2 separate regions of the Homo sapiens genome follow, and region 2 is linked to region 1. The links are contacts of gene promoters, found by promoter capture Hi-C in human tissues and cell types (Jung and others, 2019). All regions are on one chromosome and are shown on one strand. Each heading gives the region's core, a stretch centred on a gene start or on the middle of the fragment in contact. The rest is flanking DNA. Distances are from core to core; before and after follow the strand shown. Region 1 holds the start of YPEL2 (yippee like 2). Region 2 overlaps DHX40 (DEAH-box helicase 40).

Region 1 (4,510 bases), core at 94-2,593:
CCGCTACCCTTCTTGCCCAATGCTTTGGAACAAGGAAGAACAAGGAAGGAAGGGCAGGGAGGAAAAGACAGCTGTCTCGTTAGCCTTCAGATTCACCAAAGGCAAGGACTCACTCAAGAGCCTCCCAAGTTGCAAGGACAGCAAATCAGCAAGGAGGCCAGAAAGCAAAAACCCCAGCAAAGCTTCGGAGCAGTTCTCTGGGGCCTTTCACAGCGGCGGGACTGGGGGGCGGGCGAGGGTGCAGCTCCGCTCCAAGCGGAGGAAAACAAGACACTCGCTCACCTGGCTTTTTAAACTCTCGCAGCTAAGACTGAAGGCAGAGGTAGCAATCTTCCGGACAAGAAGTCCAGAAGAACAGGTGTCCCCCACCCCCGCACGCCCCCAAGACCGGAGAAAAGCCCACCACTCCGGGAAAGACACCAGAGGAGGTCGGCGGCCAAGCAGGGTGAACTGGAAGTGGCGAAAGGTCGGGGCCGCCCCTAAGCGCCAGCTCCGGGGAGGCGCTCGCGGCAGAGGCTCCCGCGTTCCGTCGGGCAGGACCTCGCGCCCACCCCCTTGGCAAGGACACCGGGGAGGCGCCGAGACGCGGCCAGGGAGGAACTCGGCTGCGGTTACCTCGACCCGGGTCGGGGCAGACGACGCGCTCCGAGAAATTTCGAGGGCGCCCAGTCCCACAGTGGAAGGCCCCCAGGGCGGCGCCCCTGGACCTAAGTGTCCCCAGGACTCTCCGAGGGAAACGCGGCGTCACGAGAGGACGGAGGGCGTCCCCAGCCCCACCCGGACCCCATGGAGTCCGAACCCATGGGGACGACGCGGAGGAGGAAGCGGCGATTCCAGCTCCGCACCCCCGCCCCAAACCTGGCCCCGCAGACTCGCCCAGCCCCTGGCGCGCGTCTCCCGCCCCGGCCGGGGGTCCCGCGCCCTTGGGCTCCCTCCGCGAGCGGCCGCGGGCCCGGCAGTGTTTGTAAACAAACCGGTCACGTGGCCCGGCGGCCGCTCCCCGTCCCCGGCGCCCACGGGGACCCCACGCGGAACCGAGGGCGCCGCACCCCCAACCCCGCGCAGGCCCGGCCGGGGGAGTCCGGAGGCCGGGGCCGGGGACCCAGAGCCCGAGCTGACAGCGCGCCCCACGCCCACGCGCGCCCGGCCCGCGCCGCACTCCGGTGCACTTACCCGGCGACAGGCGGCCCTGTCCGGCCAGCGTGGGGCTTGGCTCCGCTGGGGTGCGCAGCGGCGAAGCGCGGCCCGGCTGGGGCTCGGGCTCCCGGCACGCTCTTAAAGCCACAGTCTCCGCCACCGCCGCGGCCGCCACTCCGCATCCCTCCGGGTCCGGGCCGGGGGCTACCCCGTGATGGACGCGCCCCCGCACCTATCCCCTCGGCTCAGCACATAGCAACACGCCGCGGGTTGGCCGGGCGCAGCCGCAGCCCATCCGCGCAGAGCCAATCATCAGAGGACGGAACTCCGCCCCCCGCTTCCCCGACCGCCCACTCCCCCACCCCTCGGCCCGGCCCAGCCTGGGCTAGGGGAGAGCGGCTGGTTAGGGTCCCGCCCGTCCCGGCAACTTGCCGGAGGGCAGGGACCCAGAGTGCCAAAGCTGGGTGGGCTCTCAGCGCCTAGGAGGAGGCCGTTTATTTGAGTTTGGGGTTTGTCCCCAGGGCAGGGCTGGGATTCCCAGAACCTGGGTTGTATTTTGGGGCGGGGGGATTTGCAGTGCATCTCCCTGGAGGCTCAAGATAGTCATTCCTTTCTTACGTTTTAAACCTCGCCCTAAGCCATAGCCTAAGTTACCAGAAGTGGCCCTCAGGCCCCGGGTAATTGAATTTAAAATGATAGGGGGGAGGGGGGAGGGATAGCATTAGGAGATACACCTAATGCTAAATGACGAGTTAATGGGTGCAGCACACCAACATGGCACATGTATACATATGTAACAAACCTGCACATTGTGCACATGTACCCTAAAACTTAAAGTATAATAATAATAAAATTAAAAGAAAATGATAGTGCTAGTTGCACCCAGCCCACCCATGCCTTGCTCAGAAGCCAGGCATTTCCCCTCTTCTCTCTGCCCTGCTAGTAATTTCGGCGAATTAAAAGTACGAAAGGGGCTTAGTGGAATTGAAGACCGCCCCATTGCTGCTAATTTTCCATGACTTTCAGAGGCAGATGACGGTAATTAGAGTGGGATGGTCCGAGTGACCAGAGGGGAGGAGTCCACGTTCTGGGTCACCGGGGTGGTGCTTTTCAAGGAAGAGCAGGTTAAAAAATAACCTCGTGGCAGTCAGGAAACCAGGGAGGCACCAGGTGGGTGGAGTGGGGCAGTTTCCCAGCAGGAAAACAGGACAGTTTGATAAAGAATGTTGGCACGGACAAGGTGAACAAAGCAGGTCCTGCCTTTCGCTCAAGACACTGGGGTTCCGCAGTTCCTCTGGGAACTCTTCCTCCAAGGAAACTAGTGTTTTACTGTGCAGCCATCAGGATGTGAGGTGCTGCAGGAGGTGCAGCTGACTCTCCGCCTTCCACACACTGGTTTGCACGTACACCCAGAATGCTGGCTCACCTGCATCTCCACCCAGCTGTTTTTAAAATATGCTTGGTCAACCAAATTGTATTCAGTTAATATCTATTGCATGTGAATCCAGTCACCAAGGTTAGTAAAAACAACAAAACACCCCAAATACCTCAGTATTGTGGGGCTGACATATCAGCCTCAGATTTGCAGTTTCAGTGTAAACAAAGGCTATGTCCTGGTTCACAACTGACTAGTTTGGAGAGTCTAAAACGGGGGGGGGGGGGGAATGCTTTCAGATGAGAGGAATCACAAACAAGAACTGTTTAGCATTTAATCCTTAATCTAAGATGTGATGGATTCTTTAGATTAGTAAGAGCTTGCCGTCTCGCCCTGATCTGCTTCTTGAGCAAGTTTCTTTGTCTCTCCAGGCCTAGGTTTCCACAGTTTAAAACAAGGAGGGTTGAAATAGGATGATCTCAAGTCCCTTCCAGCTCTGAAATTCTAAGTAGGGCCAGAAAGTCATGTTTGTTACAACGTTTCCGCAATATTGTGTGAGCGAATATTTGTGTTGCCACATCACCACTTCCTAACAGTAGATGCTGAATTAGTTTAACACCCTAGGATATTGGTATGTTATGTAACAAGACTGGTGGCTACTGTTTCTGTTTAAATAAAAGATAACGTTAGCTAAAGAAGACTAGCCTGATACAGTGGTTTCAGAGGGAGCTCTGAGGACCCCTTCAGGCCTGCTGTGTGTATGCAGGGGACTGGAAGAGGCCCCAGACCTTAGGGTCAGGAGACAATAAAACCAGCCAGCCGGCCAATAACAAAAAAAGTGTTAAGCCTGATCATGCCTCCTCCCAGTCAAAAAGAGCCAAGCATTTTGAGCTGGTAAAGGAGAAGGGAGAGGTGAAACAATGAAGTAAGTGAAACAAAGTAATAGATGCAACTTCTCTGAACCCAGAGGGGGCACTTGAATTGTCCCTCAATACATTTTCTCAGTGCCTACTATGAGCAGAATTCCCTGCTTGACTTGGATGATAGTATTCTGAAGAATCTACTGAGAGGAGAGACGCTGAGGCCAATGGAGAGTTGGTGAAATGAGACAGATGTTTATCCTGGAAAGCAAAAAGAGATGGAGAGAGAGAGAGAAATAAACAGATCTGTTCAGAGTCAGCCAAGGCTTAAACAAACAAACAAACAAAAACCCTTGCTGGTAAAAGTTTGAGAGATTCCTGGCCTCACAGATTATCAGCCTGCCTTTGTCAATGGAACAGTACCTCTGTCTCCTCTGTGTGAAGCCAAATTCATTCATTCCCAGAGCCTTCACGGAATTATTTTCCAGCAACCTCTCACTAATCCCATCTTCCCGCTGTTGCCATATTGGTGCTACTGCTGCTGTGAACAGAGTCACTTTTATGTGTTCACCTTACTTAACCTCTCAACCTTCACATTATTAATTTGAAATAATTAATTACATCTTCCTTCCCCTCACCCGCCATCCCCCAGTTCATCAACAGGTCCTGTCAGTTTCACTTCACAAATATGTATTTGCTGTGAACACATCTGCCTTTGCTGCTGCACCCTGGTTGGAGCCACCAACATCTCTTGCCTAGAATAAGCAGCAGCTTCCCAACTGATCTCCCTGCTTCCAGCCCATTCTCTGTGCAGCAGCCAGATGGTACTTCTAAACAAACTCCTTCTGGTGGCCCACAGGCCCTAGTAACCAGGCCTGCCAACCTCTCTGGTCTTCCACCATCTGTCCTTTGCTCAAACTGCTGCAGTCAAGCTGGCCTTTTTTCTGTTCCTCGTCCTGTTGTAGGGTGTTTGTATTTGCCATCCCCTCCACCTGGAATACCTTGCCCCCAGAAGGCTGCCTCTTCACCATTTGGTTCTGAGGTCAAATGCCAGGTGCAGTGGCTCATGCCTGTAATCCCAGCACTTTGGAAGGCCAGAGCAGGCAGATCACCTGAGGTCAGGTGTTCGAGACCAGCC
Region 2 (4,746 bases), core at 1,283-3,782, 280 kb before region 1:
CCTAATAAGTAATTAACATTAATAACACCAGCAAGGGGAAAATGCCATGTACCTCCAGACGTGATACCATGACACTATTACTTATGCAGTATTCCAGTTAAAAATGCATAACCATGAAGAAACATTGGAGAAACCCAAATTGAGAACATTCTATAAAATAACTAGCTTATATTATTTTAAAATGTTAATGTTGTGAAAGACAAGGACTGAGGACTTTTTCCAGATTAAGAGACTAAATACAATACGTGATCCTAGACTAAATCTTGAACTACAGAAAAATGCCATAAAGGACATTACTGAAACAACAGATATAATTTGAGTGTGAGGTGTAGATTCAGAATATATGCTTAATATTTACTAAACTAGAAGAGCTCTCATTCCAAGAATCCACACACTCCCACCACATCTGAGGATATGCCCTTATACAATACACCTGAGAAGAGAAACTGACAGAACTAAATGATTAATATGTGCTAATAACAGTGTCTAGAGCACTAAAGATAAAAATGAACAAATTAGGCCAGGCGCGGTGACTCACGCCTGTAATCCCAGCACTCTGGGAGGCAGAGGCGGGCGCATCATGAGGTCAGGAGATCAAGACCATCCTGGCTAACACGGTGAAACCCCGTCTCTACTAAAAAATACAAAAAATTAGCCAGGCATAGTGGTGGATGCCTGTAGTCCCAGCTACTCGGGAGGCTGAGGCAGGAGAATGGCGTGAACCTGGGAGGCGGAGCTTGCAGTGAGCCAAGATCATGCCACCGTACTCCAGCCTGGGCGACAAAGTGAGACTCCGTCTCAAAAAAAAAAAAAAAAAAATTAACAAATTAAAACACTGGAAAGGTTTAGAGAAACCATCATCACTCACCTTACTTTAGGGACAAATACATGAATTTGGGTCCTTGTGATTTTTGATAAAGATTTCAAGTTTCTATTATTGAACATAAAACTAGATTCCAAAGGAAATAACTAGAAGAGTTACCGATAAAAAATTTAGATTCTTAATTTTTACACAAAATATCTAAAAACACACATTATACTGTCTTTTGAATTTTAATGACACTAATAGCTTTATTTAACAAACACTGAGTGACTACTATGTGCAAAGCACTATGCTAGGTGCATGAAAGATACAAAGATGAAAAAAGACACAGTCCCTGCCCACAAGGAGCGTATAATCTAGTGAGGGAGACAAATACACAAATAACTAGAATACAAGGCAGTAAACAAGAGTGGGCAAGTGCTGAGTGTGGCCTGAGTGTGATACTAACTAGCCTCAAGGTTCCAATTTGAAACACGATGAAATAGTGTTGTCTGCTTCGAAAATCCCATCCCAAGTTTGGCATAATGGAAGTTAAATGGCCCTACCCAAACAGGTGGAAATAACAGAGTAGGCCAGGTGGAGGCGCTGTTTGAAAGTACTATCACACCTACATACATGGTGCTGATATAAGTACGTAGGTACAGCTAAAAAAGAACTTATATATATATATATATCATATATATATATATCATCTGTCCTTTGGTTAATGGCTATAGCTACTGTTTTAAACAATATACTTTTATATAAAAAGGAATTTGTATAATCCCAGAAAAATCAATTTAAGGATTAATATTAATTCAAGAAAGAATCCTGCCATAGGCAATTTTATTTACTAATTGATTAAGTCTTTTCTCTAAATATCTATAAAGCTCTGTAGCAATTAAACAGTTAGACATCTAAGTATTGCTGAGTAGAAACCTCTTATGTTCAGCCTTCTGAAATAAATGGTCACATACCTGATATATAGCACTATTCTAACAGCAACAAGAAGGCCTTAAAGAGATTTTAAGAAAAATAATTTTTAATGCTTCAATGCAAATGGAGTACACGCTGATTAAATACAACTCAATGTTCTTTGAAAACATCTCAATGACAGCGTTTGATACCAGTTAAGGCCAGCAAAATTGTACTGAGGAAAATATTATTACATGTACTGTCTTTCATTGGTTTCATGTATCATTGCTTATGACTATGGCAACCAAATCTTTTCTTTGACAACTGCATTTATGGGAACTGATGAGCTTTGATTTATGAGCTTTGATTTGCTTTTAGTTCATAGGCCAATAACAAGTGCTGACCACCTCCTCTTGGTAGTGCTGTCTGAAATAACTGGCAAAGTAGAAGCACATTTCCTGGCTCCTTTTCCCACTTCCTGAATTGGAGGGTTCACCACCTTAGCCTGTTTCCTTTCGTGTGTCACTGTGGTCCTGGGTCCTCTGCTGCTTTCTCTCAAGGAAACGAGCCCGTGCATCAGATATGGATTTGTCATCATTTCTTCTTTGCATTTTCTTTAAGACGTCTTTCGATATTCCATCTGAAAACATTACAAATTAATCCAATAAAACTTAGCTTTGAGATTCAGTACTAGAAATGTTAAGAGAAAGAGAAGCCCTGATTTTTCAGTGTTAACAAAGTAAAAACAATAAAGAGAAAAATTAAATTTTGCCCTTTCAAAAGCAATGTAGTCTATGGTTACAAAATTAAGAGCACCAAGGCCAATGAGTCAGAAAAACTGACCCTAATTCAAGCATGTGGCAGTGTTATTACACTGTAATAGAACACCTAGTGGCTAAGATTTCTTTTCTTTTTTTTTTTTTTTTTGAGACGGAGTCTCACTCTGTCGCCCAGGCTGGAGTGCAGTGGCGCAATCTCGGCTCACTGCAAGCTCTGCCTCCTGGGTTCACGCCATTCTCCTGCCTCAGCCTCCCGAGTAGCTGGGACTACAGGCGCCCGCCACCACACCCAGCTAGTTTTTTGTATATTTAGTAGAGACGGGGTTTCACCGTGTTAGCCAGGATGGTCTCGATCTCCTGACCTCGTGATCCGCCCGCCTTGGTCTCCCAAAGTGCTGGGATTACAGGCGTGAGCCACCATGCCTGGCCTCCCTAGTGGCTAACATTTCTAAAGATTTTTCTATGATTTATTCGGCAAAACTCTTCACCATTCCATTTTGCAGTGATGTCAAATAAAGAAAATACAATATGCTTCATCATTCAGCCTCAAAAAGCTTTACTAAGAAGTTTTCTGTGTATGTGAGCTGAAAAACTTTCTGTCCTATTTCAGTACCACAACTATTTATGCCTCCCAACCAGGGTCCTAATTATTTCATAGAAAAAGCCCCTTGGATATACAAACTTAGCCAGGCGTGGTGGTGCATGCCTGTAATCCAGCTACTCAGGAGGCTGAGGCAGGAGAATAGCTTGAACCGGGAGGCAGAGGCTGCAGTGAGCCAAAATCACACCATTACACTCCAGCCTGGGCAATAAGAGCAAAACTCCGTCTCAAAGAAGAAAGAAAAAGAAAGAAAGAAAGAAAAAGCCCCTTGGAAACAAAGGGGATTCTGAGTTAATAATGCATAAATCATCACTTTTTTTTTTTTAGAGATAGTGTCTCACTCTGTCACCCCCAGGCTGGAGTGCACTGGTGAAATCACAGTTCACTGCAGCCTCAAACTCCTGGGTTCAAGCGATCCTCCTGCATCAGCCTCCCAAGTCACTGGGACTACAGGTGCACACCAACATGCCTGGCTAATTTTTATTTTTATTTTGCTAGAGATGGGATCTCACCACATTGCCCAGGTGGGTCACAACATTTTTATAAACAAAAATAGTGAAGTACTACTGGGAAGCAGTATGGCATAGTGGTTAAGAGTAGAACAAATGATTTACTCACCCTTTAGCTGCTTTACATTTTCCTTATTTGTCCATCTCCTTCTTGCATCTTCTCTCACTTCACGTCGGGCCACACTGCTCAAATCATGTGCATTAAATTCATGCAACTTGGGTAACAAGTCTCTTACCCATTCATAACGGATTGGGCATACAATTCTTGCGTAGACTTTGGTGGTAACCAATACCTCATGAAAAATGATCCATTCAAGTTTGGTTTCCTGTTCATGAAGCTATACAAAACATTTCTTTTAATGATGGTAACTCAATAACCTGCCCTATTCCACATTAAACCAACCAAATAGTCCAAATCCTTCTCAATTAATTCCTATCTTCTTCAAACAGGAGGCACAGGCCAACCAATACCCTTATAGATCTATGTAATATAGATATATGTAAATTTAACTCCAAAGTGAAAAGTAGAAGACATTTGTATATTACTTATTTCTACAACTTTACAAATTTCTTCCCTTTATTAAAAATGAAGTACTTACTGCTGAGGAAGGATGAATGTGAACTGGGCTTCCACGACCATCCATTGTGCAAAACGTTCTCCCAACAGATCTATAAACAGAAAAACAAAATGATAAAGACTACAACAGTAAAGCAATGAAGTAAATGGAGCATTACATTCAGCAATGAACAATTACAATATGTTCTACTACAAACAGCATTATAAGCAGAGGTTTACATTTATTCAACTGTCACTACAAGCTCTCTACCAATTCATCTTAAATTAATTATACAGGTTAAACAGTCACTACAATTAGGTATAAGTCACTACAATTAGGTATAAGGAATCAGTACAAATATTAACAATAATCTATGAGCTTTGAGAGCCAGGAACTTTATTAAAAAGTCAAAACTAAAATTCAAATAAATTAGCTAGACTTCTCAAGATCACCAGCGCTAACGCATGGTAAAACCAAGTCCTAAACAGTTCTTCTGACTTAAATATGGTTTCTTTATGTTATACTATGCTGCATCTCTTTTTAAAGGGATGATTTTTTCACTACTCTAAAACTTGACAATTAA

The links. The method cuts DNA at HindIII sites, captures the fragments that hold promoters and counts their contacts. A contact is called where the count stands out against the background at its distance.
Region 2: a contact is called between a fragment that was not itself captured here and the fragment with the promoter of YPEL2 in region 1, in 1 of the 25 tissues and cell types used here (spleen).

The regions. Positions count from the first base shown.
Region 1 is chr17:59,328,488-59,332,997 of GRCh38, reverse strand. YPEL2 (yippee like 2) reads right to left here and starts at 1,343. Exons shown (of 5, transcript NM_001005404.4): 1 at 1,174-1,343. RefSeq lists an enhancer at 286-847 and a silencer at 1,058-1,577. The HindIII fragment of the contact is 13,001 bases long and covers 1-4,510 here.
Region 2 is chr17:59,604,644-59,609,389 of GRCh38, reverse strand. It overlaps DHX40 (DEAH-box helicase 40), which reads right to left. Exons shown (of 18, transcript NM_024612.5): 16 at 4,206-4,275; 17 at 3,716-3,944; 18 at 1,045-2,357. The coding sequence ends at 2,218. Among named protein-coding and RNA genes, the nearest start is that of CLTC, 13 kb to the left of the region's middle. The HindIII fragment of the contact is 7,902 bases long and covers 1-4,746 here.